Linked DNA regions of Homo sapiens: all the other regions are linked to region 1. Evidence: promoter capture Hi-C in human tissues and cell types (Jung and others, 2019). All regions are on one chromosome and are shown on one strand. Each heading gives the region's core, a stretch centred on a gene start or on the middle of the fragment in contact. The rest is flanking DNA. Distances are from core to core; before and after follow the strand shown.

Region 1 (4,569 bases), core at 1,961-4,460:
CGAGGAGTTTGAGACCAGCCTGGGCAACATAACGAGACTAAAGATATTGTTGGACATTGTGAATTTTACCTTATTGGGTACTGGATGTTTTGTGTTCCTATAAATATTCTCGAGTTTTGTCTTGGGAGGGGATTAAGTTACTTAGAACCAGTTGGATACTTTTGGATCTTTCTTTTCAACTTGTTAGGGCTAGTGTTTTTTCCGACTCCTAAATCAAAATCCTTTGTGTACCTGATGCCCTGTGAATTCAGAGGTTTTCCATTCTGGTGGGTGGTAGCAGGTATTATTCCTACCTCTGTAAACTGTAAGGATTTCCCCTCTAATCCTTTGTGATGGTTCTTTCCCCAGCCTGAGTACTTGCCCCACCATGTGTGTGCATTCATCAGTATTCTGCTGCAGAGTGTACCTTGTGGCAGGCCAGGTCTCATTAACACAGGCCTCCATAACAACTGTTTCAGTACTGACTTGAGTGGCTAAGTTAAATACTAAAAGCTAAAAAAACCAAAGCCCTTATACAAAGGCTGGAATGTAATAAAAACCCACCAAGAACTAGGTCTCAAAGCATGACAAAAAAAAAAAAAAAAAAAAAGAAGGAATTCTTAGCTGGACCCATTTAGGATTAAACAAGTTTTTTGGGGTTCTGAAGGAATCCCCAAACCTCCCTGATTTAGCAGGAGACAGGGGTAATCACCCTAGCACCTGGACCCATTTAGATTAAGTTTACTGAGGCTCCAGAGGAAGGTCTTCAGGACTCAAGACCTTAGTTGTAGATTATAAAAAGTTAACCACTTAATGTCTATAGATGAATGCACACTTACACATAGACATATAGCTTAGAAGGTCTGGAAAACTGTAATTTTGAGTTGGTCTGGTTATAGTTTCCAGGGCTTCTGCCTGTAACTGGTTCCAGAAATAAAAACTCTCTTCCTCCCCAGTTCATCTACATGTTCTTACTGGGTCACAAGAAATAGCAACCCAACCCTCAGTTTGGTCTGGGAACACCCTGTGCAGCTCTCCCCTCCAATATCTGCCCTGCAAAGTCTAGCTGCCTTGTTCTCTCTAGACTCTTAGAGAAACTCCGTTTCCTCAACTTAGGGCAACCACCAGCCTCTGCCTGTTTTCTCCCTTTCTGCTTTGTACCCTGGCAGGCCCAGGCCAATTTGGGAGCTTGCCTCATTTGTGTCTCATCTCTTGGTGATCGTTTTCCCTTATTGCCTGATGTTCAATGTTCTTTTTTTGTTCCTCTTAGTTTTTTAGTTGTTTCAGGCAGGAGGGTAAATTCAGGTCCTTTATCTCTGCCAGAAACACAAATCTGTGGTTTCTGTAGTTGTTGACAAACCTGTTTTCTGCTTGCCTTTGCTCCTAATTTCCCACAGTGAGATCCTGCTAACAGATCTTTTTAAGAAATCCTCTGGGTCGGGTGCAGTGGCTCATGCCTATAATCCCAGCACTTTGGGAGGCAGAGGTGGGTGGATCACGAGGTCAGGAGTTCAAGACCAGCCTGAGCAATATGGTGAAACCCCATCTCTACTAAAAATACACAAAAAAATTAAGCCAGGCATGGTGGTGCGTGCCTGTAGTCCCAGCTACTTTGGGAGGCTGAGGCAGGAGAATTGCTTTAACACAGGAGTGGAGTTTGCAGTAAACTGAGATTGTGCCACTGCACTCCAGCCTGGGAGACAGATGAGACTCCGTCTCAAAAAAGAAATCCTCTGTATATTTGGATTTGTCAACAGATAATCTAGTCCTTTTCACTTCATTCTATTCTGTTTACTTGGTTGTGAGTTGCCCTTTCAGACTTAACAGCTAGACAAAATTTTGATAAGCATACCTCCTATATTAGGGTAATTCACAGAAACAGAACCAATAGGGAGTGTGTGTATAAAAGATTTATTATAAGGAATTTGCCCGTACAATTATGAAGGCTGAGAAGTCTCAGGATCTGCAGTTGACAAGCTGGAGATGCAAGCAAACTGATGTGCAGTCCCAGTCTGAGCCCAAGGCTGGAAAAGTGTTCCAGCTCAAGCTGTTTGGCTGTAGGAGCTCCCTCTTACTCCTGGGAGGTCAGCCTTTTTGTTCTATTCTGTCTTCGGTCGATTGGCTGAGGCCCACCCACATTGGGGAAGACAATGTACTATACTCAGTCTACCAATTGAAATGTTAATCTCATCCAGAAACTCAATTGGAAAACTATGTATTCACAACACTTCTGACACCAAATTGTGTTTTCCACACCAATTATCCCATTCTCACTAAAACCTTGGTCTCCACAACCCCTTTATTCTCTAAAGACATTCCTAAGTCTTTAGTCAGTAACTTTTCAACCAATTGCCAATCAGAAAATCTTTGAATCTAGCTGTGACCTGGAAGCCACCCCGTCCCCCACCCCTTCCAATTGCCCTGCCTTTCCCGATGGAACCAGTGTATATCTTAACATGCATTTGATTGATGTCCCATGTCTCCCTAAAATGTATAGAACTAAGCTGTACCCTGACCACCTTGGGCACGTGTTCTCAGAATCTCCTGAGGGCTGTCACCCGCCATTGGTCACTCATTTGGCTCAGAATAAATCTCTTCAAATATTTTACAGAGTTTGTCTCTTTTTGTCAAGGAAACACAGATGTATCAAGGGTAGGATGCAAACTTTGTGATTAAAAATATAATGAAATTTCAAGTTGCAGTGAGCAGCTCTGAGGTATGTTCATGAACAGCACACAGATGCAAAACAATAATCTGGAGGGTTAGCAGTCTTCCCGAGTTCAGGAGGTACCTTTTTAAGACCAGTTCCTCCCGCTCCGACACTGCCAAATCAGCGACTCTGGTGCTTGTTCAACTGAAGCAAAGAAGGGCGCAGCTAATCTTGGATCCAGCGTTTCCCTAACAAGGGCTAAGAGTGAAGCCGACTTTGCCGTCCGGGGCAATGTTTAGGAAAGCAACCAAAGCCAGCAGGAGGGAAGAAAAAGGAGAGGGATATTCTTGGCCCCCTGACACTCCGCTGTGTAGCCGGAGCACGTCTAACCCCAGCGTCTTGAGCAAGGAGTGTCCCTGGAGCTGTTATCCAGGGTCGCTCCACCGCACAGAGTAGGCTTCTCCAGTCTCCCCGGCTGCCCTCGCCCCACCCCCTGCCGCCTGCGGGCATCGCTTTATGACGTCACCACGTGCCTCTGCGGGCAGGCGCGGGAGGTGCGACCGGGGGGCGGTTGGGGTTCACCGCCTCGTGCCGTACTGGCTTCTGGGTGGCCCTTAATGTCTTGTGCTCTAAGGTGCTGAGGGGAAAGACGCGGGAGGTCTCTGGCCTGACACTATGAAGGAAGAGAGAAACTACAACTTCGACGGTGTGAGCACCAACCGCCTGAAACAGCAGTTGCTGGAAGAAGTCCGCAAGAAGTGAGTCGGCGGGCGGCGCGGTGTGGGGTCCCGTCCACACCCCCCGAGCCTTCACCTGCAGAGTCTCAGGGCTGAAGCCGCTGAGGGTGCTGTAAGACCGGCGCCGTGATTAACCCCTGGGCACTTCGGTCTGGGTTCCAAAAGTATTCCATGCGAAAGATTCACGTGCCTCTTTGAGTAAGCCTTTGGTATTGTTAAGTAGGCAGCTTTCCGGGTAGGATGTGCTGCCCTTAAGGATCCAATCATATGGCGTGTATTTTGCCCATATACTGTAATGCCAAAAGTTGTGTTTGGTTTTGATGTCTCCATAAATCCAGGTTTTCTGCTTAAAATTCCAAAGATTTTATTTAGTTATACGGGGTTTTTTTTTTCTTTCATCCCTTTAAGGGGAACTTCATAAAATGACATTTAGTAAAACTGTTACTCCTCCTTTATGCTTTTTAAAAACAGTATTCGTACTTCGTGTTAAATTTTTGAAACATTTAAAGTATTTTTTGGACATACTCCCAACTCCATCCACAAGTCCCGTGAGAATTGGACTCTCCTTTGTGCCTAGATAGGGTTCTGGGTTTTCCTCTATTGTAGCTCCAGTCACAGTATTTTAATTGCCTGTCTATTTCTTGTTTTGCTACCAAACTACACGCGTTCTGAGGACAGGTTCTGTGTATTCTGAGGAAGTAGAGAATAAGAGCAAGTACTTGAGGACAGTCCTGCAAAAACACAAACTCCATCTCTTGTCACTCAGTAACTATGCAATCTTAGACAAGTTAATTAACCTCTTTAATCCTCAGTTTTCTCAGCTCTAAGACTGGTATACAAATAGTCATCTCATACCTCCTGCTGTTGTTCCCAGGTTGGAATGAAATGCACTATAAAGAACTTAGCATTGGCTTGTGATACGCATCCAGTGGAACTTTGCTGCCGCTATTGCTATTTTTCTGTTCACTGTTCACTGAATTCTTCCGTATTTAATACAATGCCTTGAACATAATAGGCACTCAAAAATATTTATTGAATAAATGGCCCTGTCATATGATAATGTTCTATTTACTGATGCCCTAAATAGCTAACCTTTTAAATTAGTGTTTGTTTTTTTCTCTTTGTTTCAGTTTGTCAGCTGTTATGTATTGCCCTAGGTATGCCTTTCTGTAATAATGTGCAGTGCCTAATTTGCTTGGTTCT
Region 2 (4,298 bases), core at 403-2,902, 530 kb before region 1:
TAATGTGGCAGACAAAAATTAAATTGTGTTGAATATTGTCCTACTATTCTTATCCAAATTCATGAACAGGCAGCTACCTTATCCTAAAAAATATCCTTGGTAAAGATTCTGAGCCTCTCAGTTATCTATCCCACGTCTGACAATTACTCATCATCACAAAGTTCTTACAAATATTTAAATTCAGTCCCTTTTCATTCAGCTCTCACTGGGCTATTATTTTCCCTCCTTTCCCATTTCCATCCATTTCCCATTTCCCTCCTTTCCCATTATTCCATCTAAAGAAGCATAAGCTAATGTTTTCCACCATAAAGGGTAACTTAAGCTTCAAAAAAACTCTCAACATCGTAAGTATGAGAATAAACTAACAGTTAATAACAGACAGTAGATGAATTCCTCTGCATCTAGTAAGAATAAACTAAAGAACAGAATAAAGAAATCAGCTAACTCAAAGGTCAACAACTGGACTTTAATGAATTAATTTTGTTAAAAGTGTTTTGAACAGATATGCAAGTAAAAACACACACATTAAGAAATGAACAAAAACGTTCTTGCTCTCCATAAGTACTTCTTAGAACAGCCATGATTAAGTCGAACTTTATATATAGAGTTTAAAAAACAAGTAACAAATTTTTGTAGAGTTAAACTTGAGACACATACATTTATATCCTAATATTGGATATACTCTCTTGACATTTAATTTGTTATTCCTATTGGTAGGTTTGCCTTTTTAAAGTTTTAAAGTTTTCCTAGGAGAAAGTATAAGAAAAAGGTATCCAGATTACTTATCATTTTTGAACATTACTTAGGAATAACAGTTTTCAGATAGCTCAATTGCGAAAAACAATGACAAAATACTGGAGTGTTAGTTTTATTTTCAGGATCACCTTTTTGAAAAGGATCTTTTTCATTTTGTTTAATAAAAAATAAGTATAAGAAAAATAATTTTGTCTTGGCATTGGTGGGCTGAGATCTATACTGTTCACAAATTCAACAAACAAGAAATGTCTGCTTTAAGAGATCAGCACTAACAGGTAACATCAAAGAGAGAAGCCAACTGTAGGAGACACATCCCAGTGTGCTTAGTTAATCCGTCAGGTTTTACTAACACACCTCTGAAAAGAGATGCACATCCTAAATTCACAGATATTAAACAATAATCACTTTCCTTACGTCTATATAAAATGTGCTTACCTCTTTGACAGCTTCAGTCTTAACTGCAAAGAAAGGTTATTAAGAGAACCCAATTATAGGTGCCCCAACTACATGTTAGCACCACAAAATAGCCATCAACATTTCTTAGGAGTGTTATTGGCACTGCGGGTGAGACAATCTTTAGTATGTGGGACTACCCCTGACACTGCAGAACATTTAGCATTCCTGGCCACTCACTAAAAGCCAGTGGTTTTCAAGGTCACTATGACAATCAAATTGACCCTTGATGAGAACCACTGAGCTAGATGAGTCAAGATTAATATCTATTAACTTTATGACTTCCACAGAAAGTAACTGCTTCATTACCTTCAGTAACAATGACTGAAGAGGAATATATTTTTTAAAAAACATTATAATTAAATGTTATTTGGAAAGATAAGCTGACTTCTTCAAACTCACAGTAATCTGAAAGATTAGATGCACAAAGTGCAATACTTACTTATCCCCAAATGCACACATACATTTACAGGAAAATGTTTATGTTCTACAGGCATAGATTATTACCCCATTTATGTCTGGTAAAAAAATATGCTCATCTATTACAATAAGATAAAAAACCATGTAGATGTTCTTGGTAAGTTCCCTCACATTGATGTTCCTGGAAACTGCTGTTGTCTTTGCTCCAAAACTTGCTGATTTAATAGCTGTTGCTGTTTCTGTAAAAATTGCACTACTTCTGGACTTCTTAGTAACGACTTAGAAAGAAAAGAAAAAAATTATTAATAGCATTAATCTATGTCATTAGACTGTTTTCATGCTAATTACTCTGATGTGTCCCTACATATGATACAATATGTTCACAAGAATATGCCTGAATCAAAAGCACTTTTACATCGGATGCACTGCAACTAAGCTGCAAACTAAAAATAATGTGATGTCACACATCAAAATACTAAAACCTAAAAATAACGGGTGAAGTCTGTTATTGGTGACTTTGTGTAAAAAGGAAACACCTTCTCTAATATGCCAGCAAATATACTCTCTTGAAATATGTAAGAACAAAGAGCTAAAAGTAGCACTGACCCAGGATTATAGCAAGAAAAAAAATGGAGATGAAAGGGGGCCACATGTGAAAATAGCAGCTAAATGCCAGTTTGTACATACATACAAACTAGTGCTAGAAGTCAAGTTTCTCATTAGGCAACTAAGTCTTCATAAAGAAATTAAAAATTGTGTGTATAGGTGTGTATATATATATATGTACATATATATCGGTATATACCAAAATTTCAGGAAAAAATATAACTGCTCTAAAACATCCAATACCTTTTTGTACACTCATCACTTTAAAATATAGTTGTAATAATATAACAAATATAACAGACTATGATTAACATATTATTATTAGAGACAGGGTCTCACTCTGTTCCCCACGCTGGAGTGCAGTGGCGTGAGCATAGCTCACTGCAGTCTTGAACTCCTCGGCTCAAGCAATCATCCTGCCACAGTCTCCTGTAATAGGTTTTTATAATAAAATACTTACATAAATTTATAGAGAAAAAAATCTTTGGCCCCAATAAGCTGCAAAAAGATAAACTGAATAAAGTGAACATACTATCATTAAATACTGACTTTCAGATTATATGTATTATATCTTAGTACATTTTCTATTTATTAAACAGTTTTATTTAAAAATCATCTTAGCTGTTATGACACTGTTGGACATTTAGGCTGTTTCAACTACCTTTTTTACTATTTATGAGAAATATATTCCTGGCAATACCTTTATGTTTAACTCTATCCATATTTAGGATTTACATTCTGTAAATGTCTTCATATTAAATGTGATGTCTGAGTTGAAAGGGATGACTCCTGGTACATATTGCCCAACTGCTTTCTGAAAGTGCCATACCAATATATAATGCCATTAACTACTTGAGAATGTCCATTTCATGAAAGTCTCCACATCACTGCATCATTGTGCGTAATCGTTTAAATAATTTTCACTTTTTGTTTATTTTTACTGATATTGAATACCTTTCCATATCATTTAATGGTATTCTGCCTTTTTTTTCTGTTTCTATCTTTTGCAATGTATTGAAGCCAAAGGTTTTCCTCATCAAATTACAGGAATTTTTGTAATAAACTTTCTTTGCAGTTAAGACTGAAGCTGTCAAAGAGGCAAACATATTTTATATATATGTAAGGAAACTGATCATGTTTAATGATTTATAGGGTGCTCTGTTGCCTAGGCTGGAGTACAGTGGTATGATCATAGCTCATTGCAGCCTCGAATTCCTGGACTCAAGCAATCCTCCTGTTTCAGCCTCTTGAGTAGCCAGGACTACAGCTACATACCATCACACTCGGCTAATTTTTAAATTTTTTTGTAGATGGGGTCTCGCTACGTTGCCCAGAATGGTCTCAAATTCCCAGCCTCAAGTGATCCTCCCACCTGGCCTCCCAAAGTGCTAGGATTACAGGCATGAACCACAATGCCCAACCAGGAATATTTTATGTGATAAAATACCAGACACGTTAACCATAGTCTTTTATATTTGTTGTACATATTTTTGCTCTAGGTCATTGTGCAATTTGCCACCATTTTTGACTATAGCATTCATTTTTATGTAGTCAAGTTTATAATCTTTTCTCTGTGATTTTGTCTATATAAGCTAAAAAAAATCTCATTACATTTTTGAGGTAAAGTTCCGATTCTTTTTTTAAAATTTTGACTTATTAGGAATTTATTTTGATGTATAGTGTGATGTCATGAGCTAAAAATCTCAAAAATCTCAATTGTTCCATTTATAACAAACGTTTGTTAACACATTTATAACTGATTTACAAACAGATATTTACCAGTCTTTTTTGATTTAACACTTGTTCTAAAAGAGTAGGTCTTGCAGGACGATCCCCAAAAGATCCTGTTCTTTGTTTAACAATGGAGAGTATGTTATCTGCACTTTCCTGGGATAAATGATAAAAATGCAAATAGATAAACAGTTAACGTAATAAGTCATGATTACAGGTATTTCAAAGATGTAATGAACAGGTCTTTGCATTTCTTCCTTCTTCTTGCCCAGTCTCTGGGCAACTCTGGGAAAGTTCTTCATTATCATAGGCAAAGTATTGGCAGTTAATTT
Region 3 (4,551 bases), core at 1,810-4,309, 560 kb before region 1:
GGAGTAAACCTAAAAGCCATTGTTTAGAAACAGGTTGAAATCATTCATTGATGTTGACTCTTAATGGAGACAGTTACTTTATGTTTATTTATATTCTGTCTCCATAGTGGCTTTGAGGCCACTTACGAGAAACCATTGCAGTGAAATGATAAATGAAAAATAGAAAATCAGAAACGGGTCGAGGGGAGGGGAGAAGAATCCAGATATGTCATCCATAAGGGTTAGCATTGTTAACCAAACTAAGCAGGGTCGGGCCTGGTTAGTACTTGGATGAGAGAATGCCTGACCTCCTGGGAATGCAGCCCTGTAGGTCTCAACCTTATTTTACCTAACCCCTATTCAAGATGGAGTTGCTCTGGTTCAAACGTCTCTGACACAGAGAGCTGGAGAAGATGGTGGTGATTTTACTCTAGGTTTCCTGACAAGGAGGGAAGAAATGAAAAACTCACTCTGGAATGTAATTTTTATCCCAAAGGGGGAAAATAGCCATTCCTCAAAGGAAATAATCTTTGAATTAATTCCTAAACAAGTTTCTTGAGCATGGCTTTACTTTCAAATGATTTTTAGAAGAACCTTCAGTGAACTCTCAAGGCAAAACATTAACACATAATGTTGTGAAGCAGTTTGCTGAGGAGCTTTGCAGATTGGTCTGCATGTTCAATTTCTGCTGGTGCCAGTGGATCCAAAGACAGGATTAAAGTATTAAAGGAGTGCTGAATGTGTTCTAGGAACCTGTCTGCAAGTCGCTTCTTCAAGGTGCTCCTGCTGAGGACATGGAGAGTGTGTGGTAGTCTGTTTCACTGCTATAAAGGAATACCTGAGACTGGGTAATTTATTAAAAAAAGAGGTTTATTTGGCCCATGGGTCTGCAGGCTGTACTGGCATGTGCTTCTGGTGAGGGCTTTAGGAAGCTTCTGAAAATCACTGTGTAAGGCAAAGGAGAGCCTGTGTGTCACCTGGGAAGAGACAGAAAGAGAAGGGAGGGAGGTGCTGGTCTCTTTTTAACAAACTGATCTGGCAGGAACTAATAGAGTGAGAATCCACTCATTACCTCAAGGAGGGCACCAAGCAGATCATGAGAGATCCTTCTGTGTGACCCAGATACCTCCCACCAAGCCCCACCTCCAATATTGAGAATCAGATTTCGATATGAGATTTGGAGGAGTCAAATATCCCAATTATATCAGTAGCTCCTGTGTTGTTGACTGAGAGCTCGTCTTTAGGGTTAAGAAGCCACATGAGCAAGAGCTGGGACTGATGACCTGTTCTGCAAACTGGAGCACCTAATAGTGCTCCCCTCGATGCAAGGGTACTCACTGTCACATGGTCCGAAGACAAAGTTACAGTTTTCTCAGAGCTGCTTAGAAATTACTCCAATGTGGAAAAAAATTTTTTTTTGGACATGCCACAAGCCTTGCCATAAAGCGTGTGGGTGGAAAAAAGTGTTGGCTTGGGAGATTTTAAAGCAAGGGCAGTCAGTCTTCTGTGAGATCACAGGATTCTCTCTCAGATGCTGCCATGGGTTATCTGGTTCTGAGCAGCATGGCTTCCAGGAGCACCAGCCTGAGTAAGTTATCTGCAAAATGCATTCCTCGGCTAGCAAATGAGTTAACTTGCTCTGTGGAGTTAGTTAACAGACATTAGGTTTTAGTAATATGCATTCATCTCACGAGTACTTACTGAGCATCGCCTCTCAGCCAGACTGGACACGAGGGATGCAACAGTGGAAGAAAGACCATGAGCAGGCTTCCTGGATTGCTTGCTGCTGGGGAAAGACAGACACGAAATACAACATACAGTATGTCCAATAGAGAAACACAAAGCAGGGGAAGAGAATGGAGACTTTAAACCAGCGTAACCAGGGAAGGCCTTCCTGGAAAAGTGACATTTGAGAAGATGTTACCAGAAAGGTGTCCCGATTCAGACCCCAAGAGAAGATTCTTGGAACTCACACAAGAAAGAATTTGGGGTGAGTCCATAGAGTAAACTGAAAGCAAGTTTATTAGAGAGGTAAAGAAACAAAAGAATGGCTACTCCACAGGCAGAGCAGCAGCATGGGCTGTTCGACTGATAATGTAGTTATTTCTTGATTATATGCTAAACAAAGGGTGGACTTTTTCCTTTTTCATGAGTTTTCTGGGAAAGGGGTGGAGATTTCCTGGAGCTGAGGGTTCATTTCCTTTTTAGACTATATAGGGTAACCTGGGCACGGCCATGGAATCTGTAAACTGTCATGGTGCTAGTGGGAGTGTCTTTTAGCATGCTGATGCATTATAATTAGCATATAATGAGCAGTGAGGATGACTAGAGGTCACTTTAATGCCATCTTGGTTTGGGTGGGTTTTGGCTGGCTTCTTTATGGCACTCTGTTTTACCAGCAGGGTCTTTGTGACCTGTATCTCGTGCCAACCTCCTATGTCATCCTGTGACTAAGAATTCCTAGCATCCTGGGAATGCAGCCCAGTAGGTCTCCACCTTATTTTACTCAGCCCCTATTCAAGATGGAGTTGCTCTGGTTCAAATGGCTGTGACACAGAGAGCAAGGAAGTCAGTGTTCGTGGAGCCTGAACCAGTCTGTCAGGTTAAATTTTAGAGCTCCCTGGCTGAGGAGAGGGGGTCCATTCAAATTGTTGCGGGGCCTTCCAGTTTTATTTTTGGTTTACAATATGATCTGACTTTACACTTTCGAAAAGATTGCCTGGCTGTTCTATTGAGATTAATTAGACGGTGATGGGCAAGGATGGAAGATTTTTTTTTTTTTTTGAGACGGGAGTCTTGCTCTGTCACCCAGGCTGGAGTACAATGAAACGATCTCAGCTTACTGCAACCTCTGCCTCCAGGGTTCAAGCGATTCTCCTGTCTCAGCCTCCTGAGTAGCTGAGATTACAGGCGCACACCACCACACCCAGCTAATTTTTGTATTTTTAGTAGAGAAAGGGTTTCTTCATGTTGGCCAGGCTGGTCTCGAACTCCTGACCTCGGGTGATCCCCTGCCTTGGCCTCCCAAAGTGCTGGGATTACAGGTGTAAGCCACCCCACCTGGCCTGAATATATCATTTTTAAAAATTCTTTTTAGTGACCAGACGCAGTGGCTCATGCCTGTAATCCCAGCAATTTGGGAGGCCAAGGCAGGCAGGTCACCTGAGGTCGGGAGTTCGAGACCAGCCTGGCCAACATAGTGAAACTCTGTCTCTACTAAAAATACAAAAAATTAGCCGGGTGTGGTGGCGGGTGCCTGTAATACCAGCTACGCAGGAGGCTGAGGCAGGAGAATCACTTGAACCCAGGAGGTGGAGGTTGCAGTGAGCCAAGACTGTGCCATTGCACTCCAGCCTGGGCAATAGTGCAAGGCTCCATCTCAAAAAAAAAAAATTCTTTTTATTATAGTTAATGATGAGCCATTCCCCTACCCAGTAGATATCAATTAGCCTTCACACCATTTCTGGCTTTTATTCCTTGTGACTTAAATTAGCTAAATGGCTGGCCCTGCTAAAGGAAGGTCATGTTGCCACCCTGTCAGCACTGCGTGCATTTTGAGTTTTGTTTTCTCTAGTGGTGATGATGGGTCCTCATTTACCCCACTTACCATCTAGTGGGTATGTCCCTGAGGTAGAGGGGCTGGTAGAAAGCATTTATTTGTAGCCATGCAGCAGTTAACTGGTACAAAGGGACTGAACTTATGACTTTGACCTCACTAGCAAGATGCTTTAAATAGCTACTAACAGTTAGCACTAGCACACCAAAAGCTACCACTTAAATGTCAAAGGCAATACCTTGGGCAGCCTGGAACATCTCATTCCAGTGTGGGATCTATCCATATTCTTCCTTAGAAACTAGGCAGACCACTTGAACTCTCTACAATGACATATCAAATAATAATAATATGATGATGATGATAGCTACCCCCACTGATTACCTAATATCTAAGAGACACGCTGGTGGCCGGGCGTGGTGGCTCATGCCTGTAATCCCAGCACTTTGGGAGGACGAGGCGGGTGGATCATGAGGTCAGGAGATCGAGACCCTCCTGGCTAACACACTGAAACCCCGTCTCTACTAAAAAATACAAAAAAAAATTAGCCGGGCGTGGTGGCAGGCACCTGTAGTCCCAGCTACTCGGGAGGCTGAGGCAGAAGAGTGGCGTGAACCCAGGAGGCAGAGCTTGCAGTGAGCCGAGTTGGTGCCACTGCACTCCAGCCTGGGCGACAGAGCGAGACTCCATCTCAAAAAAAAAAAAAAAAGGTAAAAAAATTTCTCCCTTTGTGGGAGAAAATAAGTGATAACCATTAACCCTGGTTATTGAACTTTCTGAGATAGATCAAGCGTATCCTGAAAATAATTATCACATATTCCAAATCATTGCATTGTTTTTGGAATTGGGCTTTTTTTAAACCATTTTATGAATCTTTATTTTCTTGTATATCTCAAGTTCTGTATAATTCTAGTAATTCTTCTTGTTTTATGAAAGGAATTATCTTGACATAAGGATTTCACCAGTCAGCTCCTTGCAGAGATGTTACCGGAAAGCGGTCCTGACCCAGACCCCAAAAG

The links. Contacts are between HindIII fragments. The study calls those that stand out against the background at their distance.
Region 2: a contact is called between a fragment that was not itself captured here and the fragment with the promoter of CCDC169 in region 1, in 1 of the 25 tissues and cell types used here (dorsolateral prefrontal cortex).
Region 3: a fragment that was not itself captured here is called in contact with the fragment with the promoter of CCDC169 in region 1 in 1 of the 25 tissues and cell types used here (mesendoderm cells).

What each region holds. Positions count from the first base shown.
Region 1 is chr13:36,296,455-36,301,023 of GRCh38, reverse strand. CCDC169 (coiled-coil domain containing 169) reads left to right here and starts at 3,210. Exons shown (of 8, transcript NM_001144981.3): 1 at 3,210-3,387. The coding sequence starts at 3,305. It overlaps CCDC169-SOHLH2 (CCDC169-SOHLH2 readthrough), which reads left to right and starts at 3,210. Exons shown (of 16, transcript NM_001198910.2): 1 at 3,210-3,387. RefSeq lists enhancers at 1,659-2,621, 2,622-3,583. The HindIII fragment of the contact is 10,512 bases long and covers 1-4,569 here.
Region 2 is chr13:36,825,252-36,829,549 of GRCh38, reverse strand. It overlaps RFXAP (regulatory factor X associated protein), which reads right to left. Exons shown (of 3, transcript NM_000538.4): 2 at 4,015-4,122; 3 at 446-1,907. The coding sequence ends at 1,797. Among named protein-coding and RNA genes, the nearest start is that of RFXAP, 8.2 kb to the right of the region's middle. The HindIII fragment of the contact is 6,804 bases long and covers 1-4,298 here.
Region 3 is chr13:36,860,142-36,864,692 of GRCh38, reverse strand. All of the region lies in intron 5 of SMAD9 (SMAD family member 9), which reads left to right. Among named protein-coding and RNA genes, the nearest start is that of RFXAP, 43 kb to the right of the region's middle. The HindIII fragment of the contact is 6,808 bases long and covers 1-4,551 here.